Regions from separate parts of the Homo sapiens genome. Here regions 1, 2 and 3 are each linked to region 4. The links are contacts of gene promoters, found by promoter capture Hi-C in blood cells and fetal thymus (Javierre and others, 2016). All regions are on one chromosome and are shown on one strand. Each heading gives the region's core, a stretch centred on a gene start or on the middle of the fragment in contact. The rest is flanking DNA. Distances are from core to core; before and after follow the strand shown.

Region 1 (2,720 bases), core at 137-2,636, 110 kb after region 4:
CAGGAGGTGGAAGTTGCACTGAGCCGAGCTCACACCAACACACTCCAGCCTGGGCAACAGAGTGAGACTCTGTCTCAAAAAAAAAAAAAAAAAAAAAAAAAAAAAAAAAAAAGAGTTTAGAGGCTGGGCATGGTGGCTCATGCCTGTAAAGCCAGCTACTCGGGAGACTGAGGCAGAAGAATCGCTTGAACCCAGGAGGCAGAGGTTGCAGTGGGCTGAGAATGTGCAACTGCACTCCAGCCTGGGAGACAGAGCCCGACTCTGTCTCAAAAAAAAAAAAAAAGAAAACTCGTGAGAACGAATGGCATAAAATACGTAGTGTACCCGATAGCCAGCCATTTATTATAGGATATTTTTGAATAGGAACTTTAGCCTTTTGTTTTGATAAAGCTTTCTGAGGCAGTGAGTCTGACAATGGCACTTCCGTTATCCCTTTAGTGAGTTTCTTAAAATGAGGGCTTGCCACTTAGGTATTGGGCTTTCAATAGGAGGGAAAAGATTTTTCTGACCTTCCTGTATATATATACCTGCCACTTTGCTGGGCTAACCTTATTATTATTATTATTATTTTGAGACGGAGTCTCACTCTGTCACCCAGGCTGGAGTGCAGTGGCGCAATCTTAGCTCACTGCAACCTCCACCTCCTGTATTCAAGCAATTCTCCTGCCTCAGCCTCCTGAGTAGCTGGGACTACAGGCGCCACCACACCTGGCTAATTTTTGTATTTTTTAGTAGAGATGGGGTTTCACCATATTGACCAGGCTGGTCTCGAACTACTGACCTCGTGGTCCGCCTGCCTCGGCCTCCCAAAGTGCTGGGATTATAGGCATGAGCCACTGCACCCGGCCAAACCTCGTATTTTTTTTATGACAGAACTGTCTTAAGGTCTTACTGGAGGTGTGTCTCTCTTAAGAGTTATTTCCAACTCTGTGTCCTAGGTATCTGAGTGAGGCCCCAGCTAAACTACTCCCAAAAATTTTTGCTCCTGGGCTACTGGCATTTATTTCTGAATGCTGTCAAATGACAGTGACTGCAGAAGCTTCAGAATAATTTTGCGATGGTTCCCATGATTTGAGGGAAACACATTTTTACCATGATTGGATTCGGTGGCTTCTAGGAATCTTATGTGAATTAAGCAATCTTCTCGCCTTGGCCTTTCGAAGTGTTGGAGCTACAGGGTTTTTCTCCAGTGTGAGTCCTTTCATGGATTTTAACGCTCGAGGCACATCCAAAGGCTTTACCACATTGTTTACATTCATAGGGTTTCTCTCCAGTGTGAGTCCTTCCATGTGTTCGAAGGTGCGAGGCAGATCTGAAGGCTTTCCCACATTGCTTACATTCATAGGGCTTCTCTCCAGTGTGAGTTCTTTCATGATATCGAACGGAATTGAAAGAAACAAAGGCTTTCCCACACTGTTTACATTCATACGGCTTCTCCCCAGTGTGAGTTATTTTATGTGCATGGAGGCATGTGGAACTATGGAATGCTTTCCCACACTCACTGCATTCATAAGGCTTCTCTCCAGTGTGAGTTCTTTCATGTATTCGAAGGCTACCAGAATGACTAAAGGCTTTACCACACTGTTTACATTCATATGGTTTCTCTCCAGTGTGAGTTCGTTTGTGGATAAGATACAAACTGAGACACATCAAGGCTTTCCCACAAAAGTTACATTTGTAGGGTCCATCTCCACTGTGCATTATCCTGTGTCTTCGAATGCTTGAACGGGAAATAAAGCTTTTTCCACATTCCTCACAATCATAAGGTTTCCCCCCAGTGTGAGCCCATTCATGTGTTCGAAAGTAGGGGAGATCACTGAAGGCTTTCTTACAGTATGTACATTTATATGGCTTCTGTCCATATTCCTGATACTCATATGGCTTGTGTCCAGTGTCAGCTCTGTGGTGCCTATTAAGGGATGCATGACCCACGCTGACTTCTCCACATGATTTTACTCGGGGAGTTTTCTTCTTCAGCATGTCATCTGGAACCTGGGTCAAAATTTCTCCATGCTGATGATCTTTCTTACTTTCTAAGAGTCTCTCTCCCATAAGACCTCTGTGAACAATGAGAAGTATATCATAATGGGTTCCTTTATCACTGATTTGATATTCATTAACAAGTCATTGCACTTGTATTTCTAACACTGTACAGCAATGTGTAGGCTTTCTGCCCTGTCTGAACATGAACAGACCACACATGCTCTACAAGATGGCCCAGCTATACCTGTTATCAAGAAAGATAATATTGATATAGGGCTTCTTAGTACTTTTTAAACATTTTTTGAGATAGGGTCTCACTCTGTCATCCAGGCTGGAGTGCGGTGGTGAGATCTCAGCTCACTGCAACCTCCATCTCCCGATCTGAAGCCGTCCTGCCACTTCAGCCTCCTGATTACCTGAGGCTACAAGCATACCATCGTGCCTGGCTAATTTTTGTATATTTGCTAGAGATGGGGTTTTGTCACATTTCCCTGGCTGGTCTCAAACTCCTAGACTCAAGCAATCTGCCCACCTCAGCCTCTTAAAGCATTAGGATTACAGGCATACACCTGGGCGCCCGGCCAACACTATTTTCAGGTAAACTATTTTACAAGTACTAACTGTCTTTGTCAATTTTATTGCTTCTGAGTCAGGGTCTTGCCCTTTAACCCAGGCTAGAGTGTAATGGTGCTATCATGGCCGAGTGTAGCCTCAAACTCTTCAGCTCAAGCAATCTC
Region 2 (2,700 bases), core at 176-2,675, 86 kb before region 4:
ACGATTCAGACAGGGCAGAAAGCCTACACTTTGATGGACAGTGTTAAAAATGCAAGTGCAATACTTGTTGATTAATATAGAAGTACTTGTAAACAAACCCTTCATGATGTGTTTCTCATGTTTTACAGGAGTCTCATAGAAGAGAAAGTCAATGAAATTAAAGAAGACAGTCATTGTGGAGAAACTTTTACCCAGGTTCCAGATGACAGACTGAACTTCCAGGAGAAGAAAGCTTCTCCTGAAGTAAAATCATGTGACAGCTTTGTGTGTGCAGAAGTTGGCATAGGTAACTCATCTTTTAATATGAGCATCAGAGGTGACACTGGACACAAGGCATATGAGTATCAGGAATATGGACCAAAGCCATATAAGTGTCAACAACCTAAAAATAAGAAAGCCTTCAGGTATCGCCCATCCATTAGAACACAAGAAAGGGATCACACTGGAGAGAAACCCTATGCTTGTAAAGTCTGTGGAAAAACCTTTATTTTCCATTCAAGCATTCGAAGACACATGGTAATGCACAGTGGGGATGGAACTTATAAATGTAAATTTTGTGGGAAAGCCTTCCATTCTTTCAGTTTATATCTTATCCATGAAAGAACTCACACTGGAGAGAAACCATATGAATGTAAACAATGTGGTAAATCCTTTACTTATTCTGCTACCCTTCAAATACATGAAAGAACTCACACTGGGGAGAAGCCCTATGAATGTAGCAAATGTGATAAAGCATTTCATAGTTCTAGTTCCTATCATAGACATGAAAGAAGTCACATGGGAGAGAAGCCTTATCAATGCAAAGAATGTGGAAAAGCATTTGCATATACCAGTTCTCTTCGTAGACATGAAAGGACCCACTCTGGGAAAAAACCGTATGAATGTAAGCAATATGGGGAAGGCTTATCCTATCTTATAAGTTTTCAAACACACATAAGAATGAACTCTGGAGAAAGACCTTATAAATGTAAGATATGTGGGAAAGGCTTTTATTCTGCCAAGTCATTTCAAACACATGAAAAAACTCACACTGGAGAGAAACGCTATAAATGCAAGCAATGTGGTAAAGCCTTCAATCTTTCCAGTTCCTTTCGATATCATGAAAGGATTCACACTGGAGAGAAACCCTATGAGTGTAAGCAGTGTGGGAAAGCCTTCAGATCTGCCTCACAGCTTCGAGTGCACGGTGGGACTCACACTGGAGAGAAACCCTATGAATGTAAGGAATGTGGGAAAGCCTTCAGATCTACCTCACACCTTCGAGTGCATGGTAGGACTCATACTGGAGAGAAACCCTATGAATGTAAGGAATGTGGGAAAGCCTTCAGATATGTGAAGCACCTTCAAATTCATGAAAGGACAGAAAAACACATAAGAATGCCCTCTGGAGAAAGACCTTATAAATGTAGTATATGTGAGAAAGGCTTTTATTCTGCCAAGTCATTTCAAACACATGAAAAAACTCACACTGGAGAGAAACCCTATGAATGCAACCAATGTGGTAAAGCCTTCAGATGTTGCAATTCCCTTCGATATCATGAAAGGACTCACACTGGAGAGAAACCCTATGAGTGTAAGCAATGTGGGAAAGCCTTCAGATCTGCCTCACACCTTCGAATGCATGAAAGGACTCACACTGGAGAGAAACCCTATGAGTGTAAGCAATGTGGGAAAGCCTTCAGTTGTGCCTCAAACCTTCGAAAGCATGGTAGGACTCACACTGGAGAGAAACCCTATGAGTGTAAGCAATGTGGGAAAGCCTTCAGATCTGCCTCAAACCTTCAGATGCATGAAAGGACTCACACTGGAGAGAAACCCTATGAATGTAAGGAATGCGAAAAAGCATTCTGTAAATTCTCTTCTTTTCAAATACATGAAAGGAAGCACAGAGGAGAGAAGCCCTATGAATGTAAGCATTGTGGGAATGGATTCACATCTGCCAAGATTCTTCAAATACATGCAAGAACACACATTGGAGAGAAACACTATGAATGTAAGGAATGCGGAAAAGCATTCAATTATTTTTCTTCCTTGCATATACACGCAAGGACTCATATGGGAGAGAAGCCATATGAATGTAAGGATTGTGGGAAAGCATTCAGCTAGCCTGGTTCCTTTTATGGACATGAATAGACTCACACTGGAAGGAAGCACTATGAATGCAAGCAATGTGGCAAAACTTTCACATTTTCCAGTTCTTTTCGATATCATGAAAGGACTCACACTGGGGAGAAACCCTATCAATGTAAGCAGTGTGGGAAAGCCTTCATTCCTTTTACTTCTTTTCAATGTCATGAAAGGACTCACACGGGAGAGAAACCCTATGAGTGTATTCTAGTTCCGTTTGATATCATGAAAGGACTTACACTGGAGTGAAACCCTATGAATGTAAGCAATGTGGGAAAGCCTTCAGATGTGCCTCGCACCTTCAACGGCATGGAAGGGTTCACACTTGGGAGAAACTCTATGAATGTAAGCAGTATGGGAAAGCCTTCAGATCTGCCAAGATTCTTTGAATACAGATAATTAATGTAAACAATTATCATAAGTATACTAACATGTTATTCTTTTTAAATAAGAAGGTATAATAAAATATCCCATTGGTTTTATGTATTAGATCAAGCTTATAATGTTACATTGTTATTATTTGGACATTGTGAGTCAGTATTACCATGTGGATAAAATGCCAGGCATCTTTTT
Region 3 (2,720 bases), core at 106-2,605, 120 kb before region 4:
AGCCTCCTGAGTAGCTGGGATTATAGGCACCTGCAACCACACTCAGCTAATTTTTGCATTTTTAGTAGAGACGGTTTCACCATGTTGTCCAGGCTGGTCTCGAACTCCTGACCTCAGGTGATCCACCCGCCTCGGCCTCCCAAAGTGCTGAGATTACAGGCATGAGCCACCATGCCCAGCCTATCTCTTGATCTTATTGACAATGCTTTTCTTGTTTTTATTCCTAACTGGAAATACAACACAAAGTTTTACACATTGGGAAATAATTGCTGGGTTGTAGATTATGGGTAAATTCAAATTTACTAGGAAATGTCAGTACAGTATGAATGTAACTTATGAATTAACCATCTCACCTTTCATGCACGTGCCTTTATTCTTGTGATTTGCCAACACTTTGAATTATCTAACTCACTTTTCGTCGCCCATTTACTCTTAAACAGAATCTCTGTGTGATTATTTATTGCTTTTTATTTGTTGCCATTGGTTGAGCATTTTTCTTATATAATCTTTCATCTTCTGTGTAGCAGTATCCAGTCATCCTCTTACATTTGACTAATTTGTAGTTATCTCTCTTTTTCTCCTCGTTTTCTTTTATTTTAATTTGAGACATCCTTGCTCTGTAGCCCAGCTGGAGTGCAGTGTTCTGGTCACTCACTGCAGCATCAAGCTCCTGGGCTTGAGCAATCCTCCCACCTCGGCTTTCTGCCCAGCTAATTTTCAAAAATTTTTTGTAGAGACAAGGGTGTCACGGTTTTGCCCAGGCTGGTCTCGAACTCCCGGGCTCAATCAATCCTCTTGCCTCGGCCTCCCAAAGTGCTAGGATTGCAGACATGATCCACCATGCTCAGCAATTAGGGTTTTTTTTTTAAAACCAAGATATCTGTACATGTTTCTGACAAATATTTTATTTAAAATCTTTAACAACTGCATACTAACCAAGGTTATTCTGTTTTTCATTTTCTGTTTTCCATTTTCATTATGATTACTTGTTTTTCTTTTTTTTTTTTTTGAGACGGAGTCTCGCTGTGTCGCCCAGGCTGGAGTGCAGTGGTGCGATCTCCGCTCACTGCAACCTCCGCCTCCCGGGTTCACGCCATTCTCCTGCCTCAGCCTCCTGAGTAGCTGGGACTACAGGCGCCCGCCACCACGCCCGGCTAATTTTTTGTATTTTTAGTAGAGACGGGGTTTCATCGTGTTAGCCAGGATGGTCTCAATCTCCTGCCCTCGTGATCCGCCTACCTTGGCCTCCCAAAGTGCTGGGATTACAGGCGTGAGCCACCGCGCCTGGCCCCTTGTTTTTCTTTTTTATTCTCATTTTTTCCTAGATAATTACAATACTTTTCCATGTAGTGGCTCTGGCAGCATTTTCATCCTTCATGCAATCATACAGCTACCTCGATGTCCCTTCTCTCTGCCATTCTGAAATTAGACCTCACTCCTTTGTGACTCTTGCTCCCCATCTGCTATGTGATAAAGTCCTGTCTGATTACATCGTCTCCAAAGCCTCTTTTTGGGCTTCTGTTTACCCCTTGGCGTGTCTTGTATTTACTCTCCTCAAAATATATACTTGGAGGCCAGGTGTGGTGGCTCACTCCTGTAATCCCAGTATTTGGGAGGCCGAGGCATGAGGATCCCTTGAGCCCAGGAGTTTAAAACCAGCCTGGGCCACACAGGGAGACCCTGTCTCAAAAACAAAACTTATACTTGCAAGCCCTAAACCCCAACATGGTCATATTTGGACACGAACCCTTTAGGAGATCACATACATTTATAAAGGAGGGCTCTCACAATGGGATGAGTAAGAAGAGAGAGAGAACTCTGTCTCTCCAGCATGTGAGGACACAGCAAGAAGTCATCTAGCTGCAAGCCAGGAAGACACTCTTCACTAGGAACAAAATTGCTGGCAGCAAGATGTTGGACTCCCGAAGCTCCAGAACTGTGAGAAAAAAATTCTGCTGTTTAAGAAACTGAGTCCATGGTATTTTGTTATACCAGCCTCAGCTAAGTCATCCCAAGAGTCCTCACATAAATCATATACTATCGTATATGATATCGTGCTGCATTTGGATCTACCTGGAATGTCTCCAAATCTTCTACTTTTCCTCTTGGACCCATTGTGAGAATAGGTGTGCTTCATAGGCAACTACTGGTGATAGTAGTGATAGCCCATAACGACTTGGGACAAAAAAGGAACTTTTACTTTTTTTTTTTTTTTTTTCTTCCTGAGATGGAGTTTGTGCTCTGTTGTCCAGGCTGGAGTGCAATGGCGTGATCTCAGCTCACTGCAACTTCTGCCTCCTGGGTTCAAGCGATTCTACTGCCTCTGCCTCCAGAATAGCCAGGATCACAGGTGTGCACTACCATGTCCGGATAATTTTTGTATTGGTAGTTAGAGACAAGGTTTCACCATGTTGGCCAGGCTGGTCTTGAACTCTTGATATCAGGTGATCCACTCACTTTGGCCTCCCAAAGTTCTTGGATTACAGGCGTGAGCTACTATGCTCGCCCTGTTTTATGTATATAAATATGTGTGTGTGTATTTCTCTTTTTAATAAAATAGAGACTAGTTCTCACTATGTTGCCCAAGGTGGTCATAGGCCAAACTTTTGGGCTCAAGCAATCTACCTGCCTCGACCACTCAACGTGCTGGGATTAAGGCATGGGAAACTGTGCCAGGCCAAATGAAAGAGACTTAGTGGGAGGCTGGGCGCGGTGGTTCA
Region 4 (2,717 bases), core at 6-2,505:
TTCACTATACCTGGACAGGCCTCATTATACCCGCTTCCTTTAGGAGTTTCCACATAGCCACTGACCCACCTTCATGTTAAAACAGACATCAGCCAACTGGAAACACAGACTCTCTGTGACAATAAGAAACCAAATTACAAACAAGACCTAAGGCCATGCAAGGCAAGAGGTAAGTCAAATCTTAGAATTCACAAAATCTAAAGAAACAGGTCTTTTGTTTTGGGTGGGATGAAATCATATGACAGATACCAGACCCTCTTCACTTAAGCAATCCTTCCTACCGCCTCGAAGTTTTAGACAAAGCTTCACACTCTCCACCAACGGCCACCTTCAGAATCCCTCAACCACCTGCACCTTCTAACCCCCCTTCCACAGGTCCCGCCCTTTCTGCCAAAGGAACTTACACCTTTCCAGGCATTGATGCATGATTCTCCCTGCAATTCCTGTCTCCCTGAAATGAATAAAAACAGTCTTGAGCCGCCTCGGGACCACTTACTTCAGGCCTCCTGGGGTTGTGTTTTCCTCAGCTGAGGCCTCTCCTATTCGGCTCTGAATAAACTTCTTTAAGTTATTTTACACAGCTTGGCATTTTCCGTTAACAAATTACAAGCCAGGACTGGGTGTTTATCATTCAGGAATCTCAAAGGAACTCTAATTATTAATATATTTTTTAAAACCTATTCTGAGAAGCAAAACTATAATTGTTAACGTGTCTCAGTTTAATTTTTAAGAGGAGAAAGGCGCTACTGGGGACCCCACAGCCCACCCTCCTCCTACACAAACCCCCACACCCGAGGCGGGATCCCCCCATGACCCTCGCGTAGTCCCCGCACAATGTGGGGAGACGCGGGGCAGCGGGCGCGGAGCTGCCCAGAGAGGGCTCTGGGAACTGGGTGACAGTCACCGCGCAGGGACAGGACGAGACGCCCGGGTCCCGGCGGCCGGCCCAGCCCCACTGTGGGGCCAAGGGGACCAAGGGCCGAGCTGTCCCACGGGAAATCGGGTCCCAGACCCCGGAGTCGCCGCGGGGAGGCCCGGGTCCCACCACAGCCGGTTCCGGCCGGTTCCAACCAGCTCCTCCCCCGCCTCGGGACCCCTGGCCCGCACGCTCACCATTTCTTGCCTTTCAGGTGACTCCCACGACCAGTGCGGGTCACAGCACAGGCGACAGAAGCTATGGCAGAGGCACCTGAACCCTCTCGGAGGGGAAAGCCAGGCTCCCAACCTCAGCTCGCCGCCTGGAGCCGGGAACCGAGGAGAGCAGGGCCTTCGCCCTCCCCGATGGACACTCGGCAGGCCCCGCCCAGCGCCCCTGATTGGACGAAGCGCCGGGCCCCGCCCCCTCAGCCGTGAGTGACAATAGAAGCCCTTGGTAACGGGGCTCTGAAAACGGGTTTGACCGGATCCAGCGATAGATTCTTTAAGCCAGAGGTCTGTAACCTTTTTAGCACCAGAACCGGTTTCGTGGAAGACAGTTCTCCTACGGGGGCAGATAGTTTCGGAATGAAACTTCCACCTCAGATCAGGCATTTTATCCTCATAAGGCGAACCCAACCTAGATCCCTCGCATGTGCAGCTCACAATAGGGTTCGGGCTCCTATGACAGACTAATGCCTCTGCTGATCTGACAGGAAGCATATCTCTGGCGATAATGCCCGCTGGCTCGCCCGCCAGCCGCTCACCTCCTGCTGTGCGGACTGGTTCCTTACAGGCCATGGACCGGGGGTTGGGGACCCCTGCCATAGAGTACTGTTGAATAGAAACTTTAGCTCGTCCGGCGGTGGGCTGGGGGGGTGGGGGTAGCTCATGCCTGTAACCCCACCACTTTGGGAAGCCAAGGCAGGCAGATTGCTTGAGCCTAGGAACTTAAGCCCAGCCTGGGTAACATAGCAAAACCCCGCCTCTACAAAAAATACAAAAATTAGTCGGGCGTGGTGGTACATGTTTGCAGTCCCAGCTACTCGGAAGGCTGAAATGAGAGGATCGCCTGAGCCCAGAGAGGTCGAGGCCACAGTGAGCTGTGATTTTACCAGCCTGGATGTCAGAGTGAGACCCTGTCTCCGAAAAAAAAAAAAAAAAAAAAGACAGGGAATTGCAGTGGAGTTTAATATACATAGAGCCGGCTAAATGAAAGAGAAGAGTTTTATTTTTATTCAATTCTGTCTCCCTAAAAAATGGGAGGCTAGGTTTTGTTTTTTTGGTTTTTTTTTGAGACGGAATCTCTCTGTCGCCCATGCTGGAGTGCAGTGGCGCAATCTCGGCTCAGTGCAACCTCCGCCTCCCGGGTTCAAGCGATTCTCCTGCCTCAACCTCCTGAGTAGCTGGGATTACAGGCATGCGCCACCATGCCCGGCTAATTTTTGTATTTTTAGTAGAGACGGGGTTTACCATGTTGGTCAGGCTGGTCTCAAACTCCTGACCTCATGATCCACCCGCCTCGGCCTCCCAAAGTGCTGGGATTACAGGCCTGAGCCCCCGCACCCGGCCGAGGCTAGGGTTTTAAAGATAATTTGGTGAGCAGAAGGCTGGAAAATGGGGAATGCTGATTGGTCGCGAAAAGGATATCACAGGAAGTCTCAGCTGTCTTCTTGCACTGAGTCAGTTCTTGGCTAGGGGCCACTGGAGCAGGTGAGCCAGTTTATTGGTCTGTGTGATGCCAGCAAATTTATCAGAATGAAGGGTCTCAAAAATACCTCAAACACCAATCTTAGGTCTTA

Evidence for each region. Contacts are between HindIII fragments. The CHiCAGO score rates a contact against its expected background, and 5 or more counts as called.
Region 1: a contact is called between a fragment that was not itself captured here and the fragment with the promoter of ZNF433 in region 4, in 2 of 17 cell types (erythroblasts and megakaryocytes). The highest score is 6.1, in erythroblasts.
Region 2: a contact is called between a fragment that was not itself captured here and the fragment with the promoter of ZNF433 in region 4, in 2 of 17 cell types (erythroblasts and fetal thymus). The highest score is 7.4, in erythroblasts.
Region 3: a contact is called between a fragment that was not itself captured here and the fragment with the promoter of ZNF433 in region 4, in 1 of 17 cell types (megakaryocytes). The highest score is 5.7, in megakaryocytes.

The regions. Positions count from the first base shown.
Region 1 is chr19:12,144,166-12,146,885 of GRCh38, forward strand. It overlaps ZNF625 (zinc finger protein 625), which reads right to left. Exons shown (of 4, transcript NM_145233.4): 4 at 725-2,059. The coding sequence ends at 1,132. All of the region lies in intron 3 of ZNF625-ZNF20 (ZNF625-ZNF20 readthrough (NMD candidate)), which reads right to left. Among named protein-coding and RNA genes, the nearest start is that of ZNF20, 5.2 kb to the left of the region's middle. The HindIII fragment of the contact is 699 bases long and covers 1,038-1,736 here.
Region 2 is chr19:11,948,148-11,950,847 of GRCh38, forward strand. It overlaps ZNF700 (zinc finger protein 700), which reads left to right. Exons shown (of 4, transcript NM_144566.3): 4 at 129-2,616. The coding sequence ends at 2,106. It also overlaps a transcript of ZNF69 not described here. Among named protein-coding and RNA genes, the nearest start is that of ZNF763, 16 kb to the right of the region's middle. RefSeq lists a silencer at 1,542-1,771. The HindIII fragment of the contact is 2,391 bases long and covers 231-2,621 here.
Region 3 is chr19:11,917,905-11,920,624 of GRCh38, forward strand. It overlaps a transcript of ZNF69 not described here. Among named protein-coding and RNA genes, the nearest start is that of ZNF700, 5.8 kb to the right of the region's middle. The HindIII fragment of the contact is 3,549 bases long and covers 1-2,720 here.
Region 4 is chr19:12,034,424-12,037,140 of GRCh38, forward strand. It overlaps ZNF433 (zinc finger protein 433), which reads right to left and starts at 1,256. Exons shown (of 4, transcript NM_001308348.2): 1 at 1,114-1,256. The coding sequence starts at 1,116. ZNF433-AS1 (ZNF433 and ZNF878 antisense RNA 1) reads left to right here. Exons shown (of 3, transcript NR_134929.1): 2 at 1,131-1,349. RefSeq lists silencers at 791-910, 921-970, 1,211-1,370. The HindIII fragment of the contact is 7,472 bases long and covers 302-2,717 here.